Regions from separate parts of the Homo sapiens genome. Here region 1 is linked to region 2. The links are contacts of gene promoters, found by promoter capture Hi-C in human tissues and cell types (Jung and others, 2019). All regions are on one chromosome and are shown on one strand. Each heading gives the region's core, a stretch centred on a gene start or on the middle of the fragment in contact. The rest is flanking DNA. Distances are from core to core; before and after follow the strand shown. Region 1 overlaps FMNL1-DT (FMNL1 divergent transcript). Region 2 holds the start of EFTUD2 (elongation factor Tu GTP binding domain containing 2).

Region 1 (2,750 bases), core at 200-2,699, 310 kb after region 2:
GGGTCTTCGATAATTGTTCCTTCTGTTAGCATTCATTAAACACCTACTGTGTACCAGATGCCAGGTTGTGCTCCCCTAGCCCCAAGAATGGACCTAGGTTTTCTAGGTGGCCCCCTTAGTCCACTCTCTCCTCTTAGCTCAGCAGCTCTGGGCAGCTGTGAGTCCCAGTCTATTTGGCTGCAGATTGGATGGGACCTCACCTGCCCTAGTTTGTTTGTTTGCTTTTTTAAGATGGAGTCTCGCTCTGTCGCCCAGGCTGGAGCACAGTGGCATGATCTTGGCTCACTGCAACCTCCACCTCCCTGGTTCCAGTGATTCACCTGCCTCAACCTCCCGAGTAGCTGGGATTATAGGCACCTGCCACCACTTCTGGCTAATTTTTTATTTTTAGTAGAGGTGGGGTTTCACTATTTTGGCCAGGCTGGTCTTGAACTACTGACCTCAAATGATCCACCTGCCTCAGCCTCCCAAAATGCTGGGATTACAGGCATGAGTCACCACACCTAGCCTGTTTATTTTTTGAGACAATTTCTCACTCTGTCACCCAGGCTGGAGTGCAGTGGTTTGATCACGGCTGACTGCAGCCTTGAGCTCCTAGGCTCAAGCGATATTCCCACCTCAGCCTCTTGAGTAGCTGGGACAACAGGCACACACCACCATGCCTTGCTAATTTTTTAGTTTCTATAGAGACAGGGTCTCACTATGTTGCCCAGGCTCATCTTGAACTCCTGGTCTCAAGTGATTCTCCGCCTTGGGCTCCCAAAGCAGTAGGATTACAGGCAGGAGCCACTGCAGCCGGTCCCCATCTGCCCTACTTTTTGTAAGACTTAGGGCCTTGAAAGAAATGACTACATTTTCCTCTTCTGGCTGGGTTGTCAGAGCTGTTTCAGACAGACTGACAGACCAGTAAAGGTGACAGCTGTGGTTTGTAGCCTCTCAGGTCAGTCAGACACAGCCAGAGTGAGAGAAGTGACCAAATGTCTCCTTGGCAGACCGTTTCGAAGATTAAGACACTTAATCTAAGATTAAGATTTGGAGGCTAAGTGTGGTGGCTCATGTCTGTAATCCTAGCACTTTGGAGGCTGAGGTGGGAGGATCACTTGAGGCCCAGGAGTTGGAGACCAGCCTAGGCAGCACAGGGAGAATCTGTTTCTACAAATAATTAAAAAAAAAAAAAATTAGCTGCGCATGGTGGTGCACGCCTGTAGTCCCAGCAACTCAGGAGGCTGTGGTAGGAGGATTGCCTAAACCCAGGAGGTGGAGTCTGTAGTGAGCCATGATTTTGTCACTGCACTCCAGCCTGGGCAATGGAGCAAGACTTTGCCTCAAAATAAATAAATAAATAGGCCAGGTGCAGTGGCTCACACCTGTAATCCCAGCACTTTGGGAGGCCGAGGCGGGTGGATCACGAGGTCAGGAGATTGAGACCATCCTGGCTAACACGGTGAAATCCCGTCTCTACTAAAAATACAAAAAAAAAAAATACAAAAAAAATTTTTTGAGACACTCCATCTCAAATAAATAAATAAATAAAATAAGTAAAAATATAAACATTTGTTGTTAACCAAGAAACTCCTCCTGGCCTCCCTCAGCTGTCCCCTCAGAGGCACCATGAAAAGCAAGAGGGCTAACGTGGGTTTGAATCCTGGCTCTGCCACTTTATAAGTGGGTGACTTGAGTTACTTCATCATTAGCAGCCTCAGTGGCCACTAATGTAAAATGAAACTAGAATAATCTCCAGTTCACAGGGTTTCTGTTTGTATCTCATCCTTTGGATTCTCTCTTCCCAGACTCAGTGATCACTCTCAAACTCAGCCCTTGAATTTTTGTTTTTTTTGAGACAGGGTCTGGCTCTGTTGGCCAGGCAGTGCAGTGGCACAATCATGGCTCACTTCACCCTCTACTTGCCTGGCTCAAGCAATCCTCCTGCCTTAGCCTCCTCAGTAGCTGGGACTACAGGTGTGCACCACTACACCTGGCTAATTTTTAAACTTTTTTTTTTTTTTTTTTGAGATGGAGTGTCACTCTGTCACCCAGGCTGGAGTGCAGTGGCGCGATCTTGGCTCACTGCAACCTCCGCCTCTCGGCTGATTCTCCTGCCTCAGCCTCCCGAGTAGCTGTGACTACAGGTGCACAGCACCACAGCTGGCTAATTTTTGTATTTTTAGTAGCGATGGGGTTTCACCATATTGGTTAGTCTGGTCTTGAACTCCTGACCTCATGATCTGCCTGCCTCGGCTTCCCAAAGTGTTGGGATTATGGGCATGAGCCACCGCGCCAGGCCTTTTTAAACACTTTGTAGAGACGGGGTTCCACTGTGTTGCTCAGGCTGTCCTCGTACTCCTAGGCTCAAGTAATCCTCCTGCCTTGGCCTCCTGAGTAGCTGAGACTTTGGGTTTGTGCTACCATGCCTAGCTAATTTTTTTTTTAATTTTTAGTAGAGACAAGGTCTTGCTATGTTGCTCAGGCTGGTCTCTAACTCCTGGACTCAAGCCGTCCTCCCACCTCAGACTCCCAAAGTGCTGGGATTACAGATGTGAGCCACCACAACTGGCCAGTCCTTTAGTCTTTACCCCTCCTCCTTTGACCTCAGAACTGACTATTGCCAAGTTTGTCCTGCAGATACCTTCCCTCCAAGCAATTGCTGCATATTCATCATCCTCACCTTCACTTCCATTTTTAGGGCACTGTGTGCTCAGAACTTTATACATGGCTTTTTTTGTTTGTTTTTGAGATGGAGTCTTGTTCTG
Region 2 (2,787 bases), core at 237-2,736:
TGTTAACTGAATGGGATGTTTAATTTTAAGATGCTGATATTTCTTGGATTAGACTGATACCTCCAACTCCCTCAATGCCACCTGCTGGGTGCTGAATGTAGAGAGAGAATTGGAGCTCCAAGGACCAATAATTAAATGTAAATTATTATGGAAACTTTCACATGCATATTCTTTTTACTTCTAAAAAGCTACTATCGCATTTATGCTTATCTCATTCTCCCAAGACCCCAGTCAAGGGATTGAAGAAATTATTTATTTATTTTATATATATTTTTTGAGACAGAGTTTTGCTCTTGTTGCCCAGGCTGGAGTACAACGGCACGATCTCAGTTCACTGCAACCTCCGCCTCCTGGTTTCAAGCGATTCTCCTGCCTCAGCCTCCCGAGTAGTTGGGACTACAGGAGTGCACCACTACGCCTGGCTAATTTTTTTGTATTCTTAGTAGAGATGGGTTTTCACCATGTTGGCCAGGCTGGTCTCGAACTCCTGACCTCAGGTGATCCGCCCGCGTCTTTCTCCCAAAGTGCTGGGATTACAGGCGTGAGCCACCGCGCCCGGCCGATTGAAGAAACTGTTATAGAAAGCTGTTCATGGAACAAGCCAAGCTCATTTCTGCCTCAGGGCCACTGCACTTGCCTTTCTCTTTGTCCAAAACGCTCTCCCCTTTGATATTTTTCACCTTGTTCCTTTATTTCAATCAAGTCTCCACTAAAATGTCATCTTCTCTGTCACTCTAAAAAGTCCCCCATACATACTCTCCAACTTCCCACTTTCACTGTTTTATTGCTATTCACAAATGTTATACATTTATCACTAGCTGACTTGTATCTAGTTGTTTACTGTTCATTTCCCCAACTACAATTGAAGCAAAGACTTTGTTCACTTAGTACTGTGCCTAGCATAGACTAAGCCCTCAATAAGTATTTACTGAACTAATGAATGACTCTAACAAGGTACACAGAATATAGCTGATTTGCCCACAGTTACACAAAACTAGCGACTCATGGTAACAAACCTCACTGCCGCTTCCCGCTACAATGCAGGAGCTCAGAGGACTTCGGAGGGAACTTGGCAAAGAACGGCTGAAAGCGGCACGGATAGAAGAGGAAGTGAGCGAGGGGACTGGACAGTTAGAGCACCACTCCTACCTAGCGATACGATTTTACGGACTGAGGCTATAGAGGCAGCCCCGAAATCGAGGTGTGTGCGTGTGTGCGCGCTTCGGAAGCCTTGGGAAGGCACGAGGACGACAGGGTCTTCCATTCTTTTTCCCGCTCCAGGCCTCAATTTACCGATCCGTAAAGCGAAAGGGGCCAATAGCATATAAGGCCCCTTCCAGATCTGACGCTTTTTAATTTCCTATCCCACCTGGAGCAACCCTTCCGTGCCGCTGACCCGCTTCAACTTACCTCTCGCCTGCTCAGCTAAGAGTTCCCAGGCCGCTGCCGGAGATCGTGCTTCCGCCCCACGCCGAGGAAACGCCTGCGCCCGCCGCCAGGAAGGACCCCGCAGACGCCGCTGTCGCCTTTCTGCCCGGGAGGACAACCCTCTGCCTGAGGACCAGTTCCGAGGTATGCCCGCCGCGGACTGGCAAGGCGGAGTAGCGGGTCCCCAAGACGAGTAGCCCAAGACGTGGGCTGCTCCAAAGAGGGTGAGAGCTGAGGATGAACGAATCTGATCAGGCGCCTCGGGACCACCCTGAAAATGGGGGGAGGGGCCTTCGGGCAGATCACGTGGTCAGGCTGTTAGCGCAGTTGCTAGGCAACCACAGCTGCGGGCGTGGTCTGCGCGGGGTTGCCCTCCTGTTCTGGTTTATCAGGGGATCCCCAAAGAAAGCAAGGGGACCAAGGCCGGGACTGCTGGGGTGAAGGTCCGGGAGGCTGAGTAAGGGGACGGAAGGGTTAGTTCTATGTATTAAATGCCTGGGGAGGGCTGAGAACTGGACACCTGATTTCGGTTACTGGCCACCCCAGCCCCTTCTTGGCGTTCAGATTCCCTACGTTGGGGTAGGGTGGCTATGGGATTGGTTGGGGACTTCCTGCTTCCTTGCGCTAGGGCTGTTGGTGATGACCCCGCCACAAAATCTAGCTCAACTCACTAGGAGTTTGCAGTTCAGAGAGGTCCCACAAGTAAATGCCAGAGCCACGACTAGAACCCACGTAGAGAATCTCTCTGCAGTGGCTCACGCCTGTAATCCCAGCACTTTGGGAGGCCGAGGCGCGCGGATTACTTGAGGTCAGGATCGAAAATTGCTTGAACCCCGGAGGCAGAGGTTGCAATGAGCCAAGATCGCGCCACTGCACTCCAGCCTGGGCAACAGAGCCAGAAAAAAAAAAAAAGAAAAGAATATCTCTGTAGAAATGATCAGTCAGCCTCAGATATGCAGAAACTACAGAAGTACAGTGATAGAACTAAAGGCATTGCCCAGGTACCTAGGGACCTCTGTTCCAGCCCTGGGCTGGACAGAGGGATTTGGGGATGGGGTCATTGAGCTCCTTCCTTTGCCCCTTCTACTTGATTTCCTGCTCAGTCATTGCATCTGGTTTGGGTGAAAGTCTCCTTCCTCATTAAAGACATTCAATGAAGAATGAAACTTTATCCCCGAGCTCAAGGGTAACTAACAAGAGTTCTGCCTTTGTGTGAGGTCCCCTGTCGAAACGACTTGCTGTAGAACAATCCTATGGGGGAAGAGTGAAGAAACTGAATTCTGAGATCCCAATGCCTCCTCGACTGAAGCACCAAAATTAAAAATATTTTTAGAGGCAAAGAGCAAAATTAAGACAGAA

Evidence for each region. The method cuts DNA at HindIII sites, captures the fragments that hold promoters and counts their contacts. A contact is called where the count stands out against the background at its distance.
Region 1: a fragment that was not itself captured here is called in contact with the fragment with the promoter of EFTUD2 in region 2 in 1 of the 25 tissues and cell types used here (spleen).

Annotation. Positions count from the first base shown.
Region 1 is chr17:45,206,356-45,209,105 of GRCh38, forward strand. The region is part of intron 2 of FMNL1-DT (FMNL1 divergent transcript); the gene reads right to left. Among named protein-coding and RNA genes, the nearest start is that of FMNL1-DT, 14 kb to the right of the region's middle. The HindIII fragment of the contact is 8,026 bases long and covers 1-2,750 here.
Region 2 is chr17:44,897,959-44,900,745 of GRCh38, forward strand. It overlaps EFTUD2 (elongation factor Tu GTP binding domain containing 2), which reads right to left and starts at 1,487. Exons shown (of 28, transcript NM_004247.4): 1 at 1,411-1,487. It overlaps DNAAF19 (dynein axonemal assembly factor 19), which reads left to right and starts at 1,771. Exons shown (of 4, transcript NM_213607.3): 1 at 1,771-1,901. The HindIII fragment of the contact is 11,041 bases long and covers 1,029-2,787 here.